Regions from separate parts of the Homo sapiens genome. Here region 1 is linked to region 2. Evidence: promoter capture Hi-C in human tissues and cell types (Jung and others, 2019). All regions are on one chromosome and are shown on one strand. The core of a region is centred on a gene start or on the middle of the fragment in contact, and the rest is flanking DNA. Distances in the headings are between cores, read along the strand shown. Region 1 overlaps RABGAP1 (RAB GTPase activating protein 1). Region 2 holds the start of ZBTB6 (zinc finger and BTB domain containing 6).

What was found. Contacts are between HindIII fragments. The study calls those that stand out against the background at their distance.
Region 1: a contact is called between a fragment that was not itself captured here and the fragment with the promoter of ZBTB6 in region 2, in 1 of the 25 tissues and cell types used here (bladder).

Annotation. Positions count from the first base shown.
Region 1 is chr9:123,091,853-123,094,702 of GRCh38, reverse strand. The region is part of intron 21 of RABGAP1 (RAB GTPase activating protein 1); the gene reads right to left. Among named protein-coding and RNA genes, the nearest start is that of MIR600, 18 kb to the left of the region's middle. The HindIII fragment of the contact is 4,152 bases long and covers 1-2,850 here.
Region 2 is chr9:122,911,804-122,914,650 of GRCh38, reverse strand. It overlaps ZBTB6 (zinc finger and BTB domain containing 6), which reads left to right and starts at 1,328. Exons shown (of 2, transcript NM_006626.6): 1 at 1,328-1,400; 2 at 2,570-2,847. The coding sequence starts at 2,579. RefSeq lists enhancers at 1,264-1,493, 1,504-1,613. The HindIII fragment of the contact is 16,169 bases long and covers 1-2,847 here.

The sequences.
Region 1 (2,850 bases), core at 146-2,645, 180 kb before region 2:
AGTCCTCAAGAAAACAAGAGGGAACACTTCTCACTTCATTTTACGAGGCCAGCATTCCCTAATGACAAAACCAGACAAAAACATTAAATAAAACTCCAGACAAATATTCCTTATGAACATATAAATATTTAATAAGAATTAAAATCTTTAATAAAAAATAGAAACCCCAACTGGAGTTTATCCTAGGAATGCAAGGTTGGTTTACATTGAAAAGTGAATTTATTTCACTATATTAACAAAATTAAGGAGAAATACCAAATGATTATCTCAACAGACACAGGAAAAGCATTTGACAAAATTCAACACCCATTCATGACAAAAACTCTCAGCAAACAGGAACAGAGGAGAATTTATTTCCTCAACCTACTCTACGAAAAACCTACAGCTAATGTCCAGAACCAGGCAATGATGTCCACTCTAACCATTCAGCATCATTCTGAAGATGCTAGTCAGTGCAGTGAGACAAGAAAAAGAGAGGCAGATAAATATGAAAGGAAGAAAAACTGTATTCAGAGATGATATGATTGTATATGTGGAAAATCTGAAAAAATATATTTAAAAAGCTGCCAGACTAACAAATGAGTTTTTACAAGGTCACAGGATACAAGGTCACAACACAAAGACCAACTGCATCTCTAGAGACTAGCAATACACAACTGGAAGATGAAATTTAAAAAACAATACCACTTTACAAAAATAGATTAAAACATGCACGTCTTGTAAATTGAACACTAAAAAACATTGCTACTGAGAGAAACTGAAAAAGATCTTAATAAAGGAAAATTTTAACATGTTCTGGATTGAATGCTTCAACTGTTGTTCAGATGTCAGTTCTCCCCAAATTGATCTACAGATTCCATGAACCTCACTCAAAAGCCAGAGGCTTTTATTTCTAGATATTCATAAGCTGATTCTAACACTGATACAGAAATGCAAAGAACAACAAAGTCAGAGAACTCACATGAACTGATTTTAAGATTTATTATAAAGCTACAGTAAGCAAGACAGTGTGGTATTGGCTTAAGGATAGACACAGAAACAGACGGAGCAGACAGAATCAAGAAGTGAACCCGCCAATTTAGGGTCAATTGATTTTTAATAAAGGGGCCAAGCTAACTCAATGGGGCAAGTTCAGCAATCTGCAAAATGTCACAGAACTAATAAGGAGCTGAGGCAGAGTTTACATCCTGCTGGACAGCAGTTGGGCTCACCAGCAAGTTTCCTTCACTCTCATGTCTGTCTCAACACAGAGGAGTGACCCTGCTAGAGGGGACTCGGACATGGTCCTATCAGCTCTGCAGGGACCTTCCATAGCTTCCCCTCATCCTTTTAACACCAGTGTCAGGTCTAGTCATTACTCCCATTTCATACAGAAAGCTTGATTGGGGTCACCGAGGAATTAAGTGGCTGGCATGGAATTTCTCCACAGCTGTTGTGTGAAGAACAGCAAAAGTGACAGGTGATGAATAACAAAAGTGATGTATAATCAACCGAAAATACAAGAGGGCCCTGGAAATTTTAAAGCCTCACACCAGAGCTTTTCTCTGAGATGCAGGAAGGAAAGAGCTCAAAGGAATGACGTTCTTTCAAAAACCTAAGTCCCTAAAGTAAAAAAATAATGAAAGGGCCCCACACTCCTCCCTTCAGTGAGGAAGAATCTAGCTGATTTTCAGTGATGATTCAGAAGAAACTACAGAGAGAAGTCTAACTTGGGAAGGGAAAGTGAGTGTGGGAAAGGTGTGTCTGCAGCATTTTAGATGACTGCAGGATGGGCCCTGGTGTGATGCTCCTGAGCCCTGCCGCCTGCTTAGGAGGGTGAGCTCTGGTGTCAGCCCTTCAATTTGAGGGCTTGGCCACTAGCTGGGTGATCTGTGTGGGATATTTAACCTCTTTTTGCTTCAGTTTCCTCATCAGTAAAATGGGGATCATAATTATATCCCTTCTACAACACGGCCTACTCTGAGGATTTGATAATATATAGAAAGCACTTAGAACAGTGCCTAGCACTTGGTAAGTGCTCAAGAAATGTTAGCTCTTATGTCACAATCCCTGGTCCTCATGTTTTTGATACGGTTATGACATTGATTCATAGCTCCTTGTCCCATATTTACTGTGGAAACAGGCTGGCACTGTAAAAAAAAAGCCTGGGCATTCCAGTTCCATGGGCCTGGCTCTGCTTCTTCCTGGGTACCTTCAACTGAATCTCAAGTTTTATAGCTGTTAAAAAAAACAAATCCTCATCCATAAATGGAACTTACATTACTGTTCTCTCAAGGCTGAGGTAAGGGTAAGAGAGATCAAAGTTTAGTAAAATGCTTATCATAGTGCCTAGCACCACAAATCATCAGTAAATGGGAGCTCATATTATAATTCTTATTATTTTGCACTCCTAATATCAGGAATGAAACCTGGTTCTCTCACTACTGTGTCAGGATAAGATGACTTGAAAAAGGGTTTATACTGTTTAGGGGCAGGTTTTAAGAACATAAGTAGTCTACGACTCACTAGTGGGTGTCACTGTTAATACTGGGCCTGTTAGACTGGAAAATACAACAGCTCAAACTAAAAATCCACCTGGAATTTTAGCCTAAGCTGCCTCTTAATTTCATTGTAGGACACAAAGGCTCCTATTCAAGACCCATATTTTTTTTCTTTTCCTTTTTTTCCTCCTTTCTGCATGACCCATGGCTGTTATGAGGGCTGTGTTAGGCACACACCTCTGGCCCTGCTTCAGTAGTCCCTGCTCCATGTACACCTGCCTCCCTCCACTCACTAGGCAGAAATACCCGAACAGGGAGAGAATGACCCATATAGTGTTTCTACAAAGAGGAACAGAGGATATGCTGGGAA
Region 2 (2,847 bases), core at 79-2,578:
GTGCTAGACTTCGAGAATACAAAGATCAGTAAGCCACTGTCCTAAATAACTCTGCCTAGATGAGGCACAAATTAATACAGGCGTGTTAAGTGCAATAATGAAGGCAGGAAAAGGGATTACAGGTTTCAAACTGGGAACCAATTATCTTAGGGCAGTTCAGGATGGCTTCAGGATGATGAGATTTATAAACGGGTTCTTTAAAGATACGTTGGGGAAGGCCGGGCTCGGTGGCTCACGCCTGTAATCCCAGCACTTTGGGAGGCCAAGGCGGGCGGATCACGAGGTCAGGAGATCGAGACCATCCTGGCTAACACGGTGAAACCCCGTCTCTACTAAAAATACAAAAAAAAAAAAATTAGCCAGGCGAAGTGGCGGGCACCTGAAGTCCCAGCTTACTCGGGAGGCTGAGGCAGGAGAATGGCGTGAACCCAGGAGGCGGAGCTTGCAGTGAGCCGAGATCCTGCCGCTGCACTCCAGCCTGGGCGACAGAGAGAGACTCCGTCTCAAAAAAAAAAAAAAAAAGCCTGGGGAAAAGGCTAGGGCACGTCAGAGGAAACAGCTGGGCCAAAAGTTTTGGGATGGAGGAACGCATTTAAGTGTGAAGCTAGATCCAGAGGTTGGGGCCATCTCCTGATGGGGCATTATCTAGGCAATCTCGAATACGGATCTTTATGATAGTTTCTGCTCTGCCACCTTTCAAGTTGTAGGTGGCCCCAATAAGGAGAGGAATCGTCCCAGAATAATCCATAAAAGGTCTGGTTACTCTGACAGACGTGCCGTAACCGAACCTCAAACCCCGTCTCCAATTCGGATGTTCAGGAGGACTCACAAAAGGAAATGGCTCGGCTGGGCGCGGTGGCTCAACCCGGTAATCCCAGCATTTAGGGAGGCCGAGGCGGGCGGATCTCCTGAGGTCAGGAGTTCGATACCAGCCTAGCCAACATGGTGAAACCCCGTCTCTACTAAAAATACAAAAATGAGCCGGGCGTGGTGGCGGGCGCCTGTAATCTCAGCTACTTGGGAGGCTGCGGAGCGAGAGTCGCTTGAACCCGGGAGGCGAAGGTTGCAGTGAGCCGAAATCGCGCCATTGCACTCCAGCCTGGGCAACAAGAGCGAAACTCCGTCTTAAAAAAAAAAAGGGATGGTGGGGGAAAACGGCTCGAGTGCCGAAACTGGGACAAGAGAGATGGGGCTTGCCGGCATTCAGGAGCCTTTCTGTCATTCCAAGAGGGGGGAAGTGAGGAAGGAAGACCGTCTCAGAATGTCCTTCCGGGGCGCCTAGAGGGCCCCAGTAAAGAATAAAGCTGGTTGGCACCGGATGTGTTTTCTTCCAGGCTAAGTCCATCTTCCGGCTTGGGCAGACGCTGCCGCGGAATCCTTGACTCTAGTTTTCTGAGTCGGTGAGTGAGTGCAAAGTAGATTCCTCAGGTGGAGGGTGCCTGAGGAAGAGGAGGAGGAGGAGGAGGACAGCTGGGCTCGGCCCCGGAGTGGCTAATCTTGTGCTGCAACCACTGGGCCGACAGGGCCTTGGCCCTTCGCAGGGTTGCCTCCAGAATACCTGTGTGCTGAACCTGGCATCCGGTTTCAGTTCAGCAGATGTTCCCTGAGCTCCTCCTGCTCTGTGTGGGCCCCTGAGCTCGGTGCAGGAACACAGATGCATCAGGCACCATCTCGCGGTGCTCAGAGAGCAGCTGACTCTCTCTGGTTGAAACGGGAGGTGGAGTCATATTAGTTTTACTTGATTTGGGCTTAAAGGAGCCTAATCACTAGCTGAAAAAAGGAACTGGAAACGCGAATGTAAGAAATGTGTATTCGTGTCTTTTTGTCTGGGTAATGATGGAAAAATTTAGTATTGAACGAGGTTCGAGTATGAAAAAGAGAATAGAAGGTGATAAAGCCATAAAGATGGGTTAGAGCCAAATCGTGATGGGTCTCGTATTCTTTCCTAAGAAATCTGGACTGTCCCGGAGGTAGAGAAGAACGATAGAAGATTTAAAGCAGAAAAGGGAAATTAAAAATAAAATAAAATAAGGGTTGTTAATCCTGGTGGCACTCAGGCGGGTAATCTGGCATACAGAAGAGTGTGGTATAAAGAAGACCTGTTGGAAGACATTGCAGTTGTCCAGGTGAACCGGAAGGAGGACCTGTTGTAGTGGTGGGGAGTAGGAAGTTTGGAGATTACGTTAAAGTTGCTAATTGGATATATTATGTTAAATCAACTTTTTGGTGGTCACAGTGCTTATATTGGATATTCAAAATTGATAGATTGTTCTTGACCACAAGGCACACAACATTTAGCAAAAGAAACAAGCTAGAAACTGTTCACTACAATTCATTGTAATGAATGTTGTAACAAAGTTATGAAAAATGTGCTATGAGATCATAGAGAAGTGCATTATAAAGTTCTCGTTTTGAGATGGTGGCATAAAGGTTCATAACACCTACATTAGACTTTGAGTCTTCTTCTTCCTAATTCAGGTTTGGGGTTTTTCGTTTGTTTTCACCATTACAGCATGGGAAAGCATTCCCTATCCTTATTACATCAATGTTTGTGTTTTATTTTGCTTAGATTGTGATCATGGCTGCTGAGTCTGATGTTCTGCATTTCCAGTTTGAACAGCAAGGAGATGTGGTCTTGCAGAAAATGAATCTTTTGAGACAGCAGAATTTATTTTGTGATGTATCAATTTACATTAATGACACTGAGTTCCAGGGGCACAAGGTGATTTTGGCTGCTTGCTCCACTTTTATGAGAGATCAGTTTTTACTCACACAGTCAAAACATGTCAGAATCACCATCTTACAGAGTGCAGAAGTTGGCAGAAAATTGTTACTGTCTTGCTATAC